Regions from separate parts of the Homo sapiens genome. Here region 1 is linked to region 2. Evidence: promoter capture Hi-C in 16 types of primary human blood cells and fetal thymus (Javierre and others, 2016). All regions are on one chromosome and are shown on one strand. The core of a region is centred on a gene start or on the middle of the fragment in contact, and the rest is flanking DNA. Distances in the headings are between cores, read along the strand shown. Region 1 overlaps GATAD2A (GATA zinc finger domain containing 2A). Region 2 holds the start of NR2C2AP (nuclear receptor 2C2 associated protein).

Region 1 (4,284 bases), core at 1,422-3,921, 300 kb before region 2:
ATCCACCCACCTCAGCCTCTCAAAGTGCTGGGATTACAAATGTGAGCCACCAAACCCAGCCCCCACTGAGATTCTCATTCCTCTCTCCCAGCCCATGGGGTAAGTTTGCCACAAAGCTCCAGAGGAGAGGGGCCGTGGGGACTCCATCCCCACAGTAAGTGAGGCCCCAGCAGCAGATGCACCCCGCCCTTTGCTTCTCTCATTAACTAAGGGTCATCCTCCATCTCCCTCCAACCTGCCTGGGAAGCTAGGACGAAACAATACAGAGAAGCCAGGGCAGAAGGGACAAAAGAAAAGTCCAGTTGACACATCATCCATTTATTATCCTTCAGAGTCTAAAACTTCCTCGTGATACAACGTATAGCCACCCATTCCAGCCTGCTTATTGGAACTTCTATTCCCATCTGGTGGCAAACATTTCTTTTTACATTTGTTTTACTATCAAAGATTTAGAGTCACAATAAATACAAGTGACAGCCTCCACACCCAAAGAGCCTCCCCAATACCCTGCACTAGTGTAACCGTCTATTACACTTTAAGGATTATAAAATTGTTTGCTGTCCTTTTTTAAAAGCTCAGTCCAAGTTCTTTAGGTTAACGTCATGTGCAGCATAGCTCAGCATCAAAAACCCTACGGCAGAGCAGCAAGGATCATCCCTTCTGTGATGAGAATATTTGTATAGAGAAGTCTCTCCCCTGCCTCTACGTCCAATAGGAGAGCAGGAGCCACGGGGCCCAGCGGGGCTGCCACTGGGTTGCCTCATTCCCTCTGCCCTGAAGCTTTTGCTTCACCGAGGTCCGTGGAGTACAGGTAAGACCAGGCACAACTAGCACTGTGGGCTGTTCCACTCTGAGAAGGGCCGCTACAGACCTCGTCAGAGGGGTGGTTCCTGGTCACCGTAGAGTTCCTGGGATGAGGTCAGGACGGCCATAGCTGTGGGAGGTTCCAAGGGCACTTGGCCATTCCAAACCCTACCCCCAACCTCCCCTACAACAGGCGAGGTGTGAACTCTGAGATCTCCCCAGCCCTGTCTACAGAGCAGCTGACAGAGGGAACCGTTTCCAGGTGCTGTTGGAGGTTCATGTCACAGGTAACAGGGGACAGTTACAATCAGTTGGGCTGGGGGCTCCCACATTCTGACGGCTTGCAGGAACCTGATCCTGGTAGGGCTCTCGGGACCAGGACCCAGGCAGTGCCTGGTTTAAGAGGGTGTGCTTTGCTGTGGGTAGAACACCCTTAACATTAATCAATAGCTATCCTGGTGCGTCCAAACCCCACACCCAGAGAGGTACTTAATAATGCCTTCACCTGGAACATCATAAACGTCATAATACAACAACCCGCTTGGGGCTTATCGTAGAGGTTATGCTGCAAGGAACTGAAAGGAAATAATGGGCTAGAGTGTTCGAGACAGCAGAAATGAAGGAAAGATTAAGGCATCTCACACTTTTGCCCCCTGGGGGGAAAAAAAAAAAGTTTACATCACAGTATGTACGTTGTCCCTGATGGAATGCTCCCTGGGGACATGGGGCCGACCCTCTCCCTTTCGAGGGGCAGCAGTCCATATGAACTCACAAGGATGGGTTGACAGCCATCAGCCCTGGAGGAACAGCCAGGCCAGGCTGGGAGAGGTCAGGAGCTGGAGCTGGGGCTGGGGGCCGGCAGGTGCGGCTCGGATCTGGCCCCCTGGTCAGACCCAGCTGACCCAAGCTGGAGCAGGCAGAGGTGACTTCGGTCTGGATGCCTGATCCCCAGCCACTGCATAGAACTGAGGTTGGTTCGCTGGGGAGGGCTTTCAGTGGGAAGAAGCCAGCCTGGGTGCTCCTTCTGGGAGGAGCTGGAAGATCTGGCCCCTGTCATGGAACAGAGAGGGCTAACAGCTCAGGGTCGTAGGAGACAGGTATTTATTTGCCAGGCACACAGAAAAATGCGAGGAATAGAAATGCTTGCATACTCTTGATTTTTTTTTTTTTTTTTGGTGTAAAAAACACACCCTCCCCTCCCACCCCAAAAAACATCAAATTCCTTCCTTTTCCCCAAATCCCTGGATCTTGGAATGAAAGCCACCCTTCCCCAATCTGTCCTCACCTCCTTCAGCCCATCCAAGTTATGCACAAAAAAACAAAAATTAGTGAGAAATTTGGGGATTTGCACAACAAAAAATTAGATAATGTTTTCCAAAACTAGGTCTTCTATGCTGTGTCAAAAAAAGTTTCCTACAGACTGAGGATATTCACACGACAGGAGCCTGGGGGTTAAATGAGCCTTTATTAGAATGTTGTAGCAGTTGTGTTTGAAGGCGGTGGCCCTACAAAAAAAAAATTAAATTAAAGTCCCTAACTGCATGGGTAGGAAAACCAGGGCTGGAGCTCAATTGGAACCAGTGGAGCCCAGAACTCATGGAGACATACGTATGTACGTGGGCACGGGACGCCCTCGCACTGGCATGAAGCCGGCCCAGCCTGCAAGAGACACGGAACGGCTTCTGCCTTTCCTCACGGAACCAGTTTTTAAAGAGTGGGACGGGAAAGAAACAAAAATGAAACTAAAAGCAGACCTGATCCTTTTAAAAACATTTTTGTAGACTCTAAAGGGAATTACAAAAAAAAAAAAAGTCTGAAAGCAAATCCTGACAGCAACCCCTAGGTTTAAGGACAGGTTCTAAACTAGACCCAAACGGAAATCCTGACATCTGTGCGCAGCGGCTCGCCGCACACCTGGACGGCACCTCCTGACCTGCACACACCTGTGCACGCTCACCTCCCAGGAGCAAGGCCAGGGTGGCTTAAGATTGCGTCCATCGAAATGAATAGAAAAAAGGAAAAAATTTAATAAAATAAACCACAACAGAAAAACCCCGCGACAGTCCCCCCTCCAGCTTTCTGCTCAGGGCTGCTGCCGACCGGATCCTCTCCTTCTCCCTTAATGGGCAGCTTCTGGAATCCCTGCTTCTCTGGCTGGGTCTGTTCTTCAGTTTGTTCTTCTGCTAAGTCTGGAAGGTGCGGGGGCGGGGGTCTCCAGAACAAGCAGCAATGGAGGCGTTCAGCTGGAGCGAGGGCTGCCTCGGCCATCCCTGCATCTGTCAGTCAGTCACGGGGGCGGGCCGGCCGTCCCTGCCAGGGGCTGTGGCACCATGAGCCGCCCACCCTCCAGGGCACAGGGCCAGCGGGATGATGCAGCGTACAACAGGGACCCCAGGGTCTGCACGGTTTACTTTTAACTCCATCATCATGAGGTGATTAAAAAAAAAAAAAATCTTTCAACTTATAGATCGCCATGGGAAGGCAGTCAAAGACTGGGAGCCTAAGACAGGGAAAAGCAAAAAAATGAAACACCCCGCTCGGTTCAGAAGCCCCGGGCGCTGGCCTTGCCCATGCGCATCACAGTGTCCAGGGTGAGCCGCCCGTGTGCCGGCAGGGGCTGAACAAGGGGGCCAGGAGCAGAACCAGCCCCCAAGGTCCACTTTTCTGCTGGTGTCGGGCAAACTAAAGGCAAAGAGAGAAAGGAAGAAAGCCCACGGGAAAGGTCCCCCAGCGATGATCCTCGTCTGCCTATGAGGCGGCACCAGCCCCCTAGCCCTGATGAAACTTTGCAGCCAAGAATTGAGGTCTTGCCTCTGCAGCATGGCCGGTGCTTGCTCTTGGGGCGGGCACGGTGTCTTCCCGAGCCAGCGGAGGGTGGTGCAGTGGGTCCTTCTAGACCAGGGGCCAGGTGGGGGAGGAGGGAGCCCGTCTTCCACGGGGCCTGGCTCGCACTATTTCCACGTGGCTGACTGGGGGATGGAGCGGGGTGGGATCATGTCCAGGAGGTACTCTCGCTGGCGGTCCACGGCCGAGGAGCTCTTGTGCACCGCCAGGCTTGGGCTGACAAACGCAAGGGTCCCGCCTGCAACAGAACAGAGCGACCAGCTGAGAAGGCCCTCGTCAGGAGGGCTCCTGGGAGGAGCCCAGCCATAGCTGCCTAGACCCCAGCCCCAATACAGACTAAGGACCCAGGAGCCCTTGCAAACCCACCCACACTACTCCTCAATCAACGTTTCAAATCCCAGGCCCCCCCAGAGCTGAAGAGTATTTAGGCAGCAACTCAATGGCCTTGACATTGCCAGGCTCTGCCAAGGTAATCCCAAGTGTGGGGCAATCATCAGAGGGTGAGCAGCTACCTACGTTCTACAGAAATGAAGGTGCTGACCACGGTGCTGCTTAGAACAGTGGAAAACCATAAACAAATGTGTGCAACAGGACAATAATGCAGGATGGAATACTATGCAGCAATGAAAAACTATC
Region 2 (4,237 bases), core at 1,732-4,231:
GTGAACCAGAGGAGCTGCTTTTGGACCTTCTAGAGCCCTCCCTGCCCCATTCCCTGGGGTGGGGGTGGGAGCTCTTAGTCTTTCCTCACTCAAGCGAATGAATGGACCACTTTTGGCTGCCCTGCTGGGAGCCCAGAGCTGCTAATTCCCTGGAGAAACAGGAGGCTCTTTCATGCCCAGGCGCCAGTGGGGTGAGGAGGCGGGAAGAGGGTATGGAGCTGGCCTCATACCCGTGGGCAAGGAGGCCGCATGCCAAAGCCAGGAGTGGTGTGGAGAGCCCTGGAGCCATGCATATCCTCACTGGGGGGACTTGGCTAAGTTGATGTGTCCTCAGCTATAAAATGGGAATGACAGGGACCAGCCACAGCAGGTTTAACGAGCCAATGGGTGGCGACAGAACATGGCTTCAAGTCAGACACACGGTGGACTCTCAGTGAAAGTCAGCTACTGTTACTATGTGTCAACCTGAAGAACCCAGAGAGTCCTCCAACAGTGCCGTTAATAGAATTCCCCCCATTTCACAGATGAGAAACTGAGGCTCAGAGAGGTCAAGGTGCTTTTCTAAGGTCACACAGCCAATGAGTGGTCCAGCCAGGATTTGAACCAGATCTGGGCTCTCCAGTGTCCTTGCTCTTTCTAACTTCCTTCCGGGGGTGAGGTTGGGGGCACAGTTTCCTGTCACCTCCAGCCCCAGCCCTGAGACCAGCGAAGTTGGGTTTGGATGGCACCAGACTCTGTCTAAATGCGGAAAGCCCTGGCAGGCAGGGGCTGAAGAGACAGGCCTTCTGCTGGTGACCCAGTTTCCCCGCCAGCCCCCACCCCTGCTGCCTGGGGTGGGTTTGAGCAGACACTAGTAGGATGCCGGAAGGACCATTCCTCCAGCCCTTGAAGAAAGGGGCTGGCTGCCAGACCATTCAGCTAAAGCCAGGAACAACAGCCTCTTGCCAGTGGCTGCTCTGTCTTGGAACCCTCCATTCATGCAGAACGGATGGTGTCCTGCCCTTTCTCCAACACCTTCCATGACTGCTCCGGGCCCAGCAGGATGTGGCTCCACATATTTTATTCAAATTCATGGTCTTTCACCCAACTAGGCCTTGGCTTATGCTAAGCTCCCTGCCTGGGACACCCTCCCCACTCCAGATTTTCTCACCCTTGTGAATTCCTGGCGCCTGACCCCCTATTAAGGTGCAGTTCTAACATCCCCTTTCCCAGGAAGCCCTTCCTCCAGGTAGAGCCCCTGCTCCTCCGGCCCCATCTCTCCCTTGGGGCTAGGAGTGTCTATGTCTACCTCTGTCTTGCCCAGATCAGGGGCTCCTCTGGGACAGGCCTGGAGCTGAGGCCTCTTGCTGTCCCCAGCATCATCCAGCAGAAGGCTGGACATGACAGTGTGACAGTAGAGCTTGCAGGAGGTGTCTAGTGAATCAGTGAACCAAATCTTCAGCTTGGTATCTGAGGCTTTGTTTGGCAAACTCCTGTTCATGCTTCAAAACCCACCTCACAGCCTGGGTGCGGTGGCTCACACCTGTAATCCCAGCACTTTGGGAGGCCAAGGCGGGCAGATCACGAGGTTAGGAGTTCGAGACCAGCCTGGCCAAGATAGCGAAACCCCATCTCTACTAAAAATACAAAAATTAGCCAGGCATAGTGGTGCGCACCTGTAGTCACAGCTACTCAGGAGGCTGAGGCAGGGGAATCACTTGAACCTGGGAGGCGGAGGTTGCAGTGAGCTGAGATCACACCACTGCACTCCAGCCTGGGCAACAAAGTGAGGCTCCGTCTCGAAACAAAACAAAACAGAAACAACAAAAAACACCCGACCTCGCATGCTCCCTCCTCCAAGAAGCCTTCCTTGACGTCCCAGCAGCATTTTCTGGGAAAGACAAACTTGGAGGCCAGGGCTCCTCTGTCCCAACAAGAACAAAAAGGGTTGATGAGGACTTCAGATACTCCCAACATCGTGGCCTTTTCCACAACTCTGCCTTTGGCCTCCGGGAGGCAGTGAAGTTCGGGGATTCCCAGGCTGCATTTAGTGGTTAGGGTAGAGTAGGTTAGAGTAGGTTAGGGTAGCCGTTAGGGTAGAGTAGGTTAGAGTAGGAAGAAAGACATTGTCATAGGAAGTCTCTCTGGCCGGGCGCGGTGGCTTACGCCTGTAATCCCAGCACTTTGGGAGGCTGAGGTGGGCGGATCACTTGAGCCCAGGAGTTCGAGACCAATCTGGGCAACATGGCGAAACCTCATCTCTACCAAAAAACAAACAAACAAACAAACAAACAAAATAGCCTGCCGTGGTGGCGCGCGCCTACTAGTTCCAACTATTCGGGAAGCTGGGTAGGAGGATTGCTGGAGCCTGGGAGGCAGAGGTCGCAGAGAGCCGCGATCCCACCATTGTACTCCAGCCTGGGTGACAGTGAGACCCCACTTCAAAAAAAAAAAAAAAAAAAGGCCGGGCGCGGTGGCTCAAGCCTGTAATCCCAGCACTTTGGAAGCCCCGGCGGCTGGATCACGAGGTCAGGAGATCAAGACCATTCTGGCTAACACGGTGAAACCCCGTCTCTACTAAATATACGAAAAATTAGCCGGGCGTGGTGGCGGGCGCCTGTATTCCCAGCTACTTGGGAGGCTGAGGCAGGAGAACGGCGTGAACCCAGGGGGCGGAGCTTGCAGTGAGCGGAGATCGTGCCACTGCACTCCAGCCTGGGCGACAGTGAGACTCCGCCTCAAAAAAAAAAAAAAAAAAAGGAAGTCTTTCGGATTCCAAAATCAGTCAAAATCAGTGCTCTACACCTTCGGGCGCCGAGGGACAGCGCCCCGTGCGCGCAGCCAGCCTTTTCCCTACAGCTTCAAGGGAACCAAGGTAAATTCAATCATCGAACCCGGGCCCTTTAAGAAGCGAGCATGAAGGGGCGGGGTCGAACCAAACCCCACCTCTGGAGCGTCCGCGGTCGGCGCCTGAATTACAACACGCATGCGCCAAGCCCACGCGGTTCCGGGTCCCAAGATTTGGCTCCAAGAGCTATTCGCAGAGAAACAGCCTCGCACAAAAAGCCACCGCCCCCGAAACCCGCGGGAAATCTGTTTCCTGTGAAAGGCCTGGCCTCCGGGCATTGGCGGTTTCCCTGATCCTCTCTCCCAAATTTTCCGGCAGGGGATTGATCGAGGCGACATTTAGGACTGGGGTGGGCGAGGGAGTGGCGGTTCTCGTCCCAAGTTACAGGTGAGGACGTTCAGGCCAAGGCGTAGCCAAGATCGCGCCGCCCTGTAGCTTGAGGAGGCGCCGGGATTCGAACCAAGGCTGTGCCCAATCCTAAGCCCTGCGAGGTCTTGTGGAACCGACATGACCCACTCTTTGGTTTGTCCAGAGACAGTGAGCAGGTAAGAGTCTGTGGGGACAGGCAGTGGCGAGGCCCTAAGCCTGGGGTCGAGCCCTCAGTGGACAGATCTGGGGGTCAGGCCCTCCGCGGAGCTGAGAGCTGGTCTCAGCCCCTCTCTTCGCCTTGATCCTGGTGCCTCCAGGGTGAGTTCAGTGCTGAATCGCAACACTCGGCAGTTTGGAAAAAAACATCTTTTCGACCAGGATGAGGAGACATGTTGGAACTCAGACCAGGTGAGGCGCCTCCCTCGACCCTCCATCTCTAGGGTGATTCAGATTCAGATCTCATGCCTTGAGAACGTCAGGGGGCCCTCATGGGTGGCCAGGAAAGGAACATGTGCCGAATTTCCTTCTTCCCCTCCATTCCAAGAACTATGTGAATGAGACAGGCATAGCAGGGCTCTGTGCCTGCAGTGAGCTTGCGCCTCAGTTTCCCTGTCTGCTTCCAGGGCCCCTCCCAGTGGGTGACGCTGGAGTTTCCCCAGCTCATCCGTGTCTCCCAGCTGCAGATCCAGTTTCAGGGTGGCTTCTCCAGTCGCCGGGGCTGCCTGGAAGGTACTAGAAGGCCCTGGGTGGCAGGGGTTCCAGGGGTCACCCCAGACACTCATTGCCTTTCTCTGCTGAAGGTTCACAGGGCACTCAGGCTCTCCACAAGATTGTAGATTTCTACCCTGAGGACAACAACTCGCTTCAGATATCCTGCCCCTGCTTCTGGGGTGGGTGGTCTGTGCCTCTGGAAGCTTTGGACTCACCCAAACCCGAATGGGAACCCTGATGTGTGATCTTGAACACGTGACCTCTAGGACTCCACTTTTTCTGTAAAATGGTGCTGATGACCACCTGTTCTGTGTGAGAGGCTTAGAGGGA

The links. The method cuts DNA at HindIII sites, captures the fragments that hold promoters and counts their contacts. A CHiCAGO score of 5 or more calls a contact.
Region 1: a fragment that was not itself captured here is called in contact with the fragment with the promoter of NR2C2AP in region 2 in 1 of 17 cell types (erythroblasts); the score reaches 5.1 in erythroblasts.

What each region holds. Positions count from the first base shown.
Region 1 is chr19:19,504,946-19,509,229 of GRCh38, reverse strand. It overlaps GATAD2A (GATA zinc finger domain containing 2A), which reads right to left. Exons shown (of 12, transcript NM_001384528.1): 12 at 298-3,886. The coding sequence ends at 3,756. Among named protein-coding and RNA genes, the nearest start is that of TSSK6, 8.5 kb to the left of the region's middle. RefSeq lists an enhancer at 3,737-4,237. The HindIII fragment of the contact is 3,777 bases long and covers 783-4,284 here.
Region 2 is chr19:19,202,158-19,206,394 of GRCh38, reverse strand. It overlaps NR2C2AP (nuclear receptor 2C2 associated protein), which reads left to right and starts at 2,981. Exons shown (of 5, transcript NM_176880.6): 1 at 2,981-3,372; 2 at 3,514-3,604; 3 at 3,820-3,925; 4 at 3,997-4,064. The coding sequence starts at 3,335. RefSeq lists an enhancer at 2,781-3,075 and a silencer at 3,739-4,005. The HindIII fragment of the contact is 11,500 bases long and covers 1-4,112 here.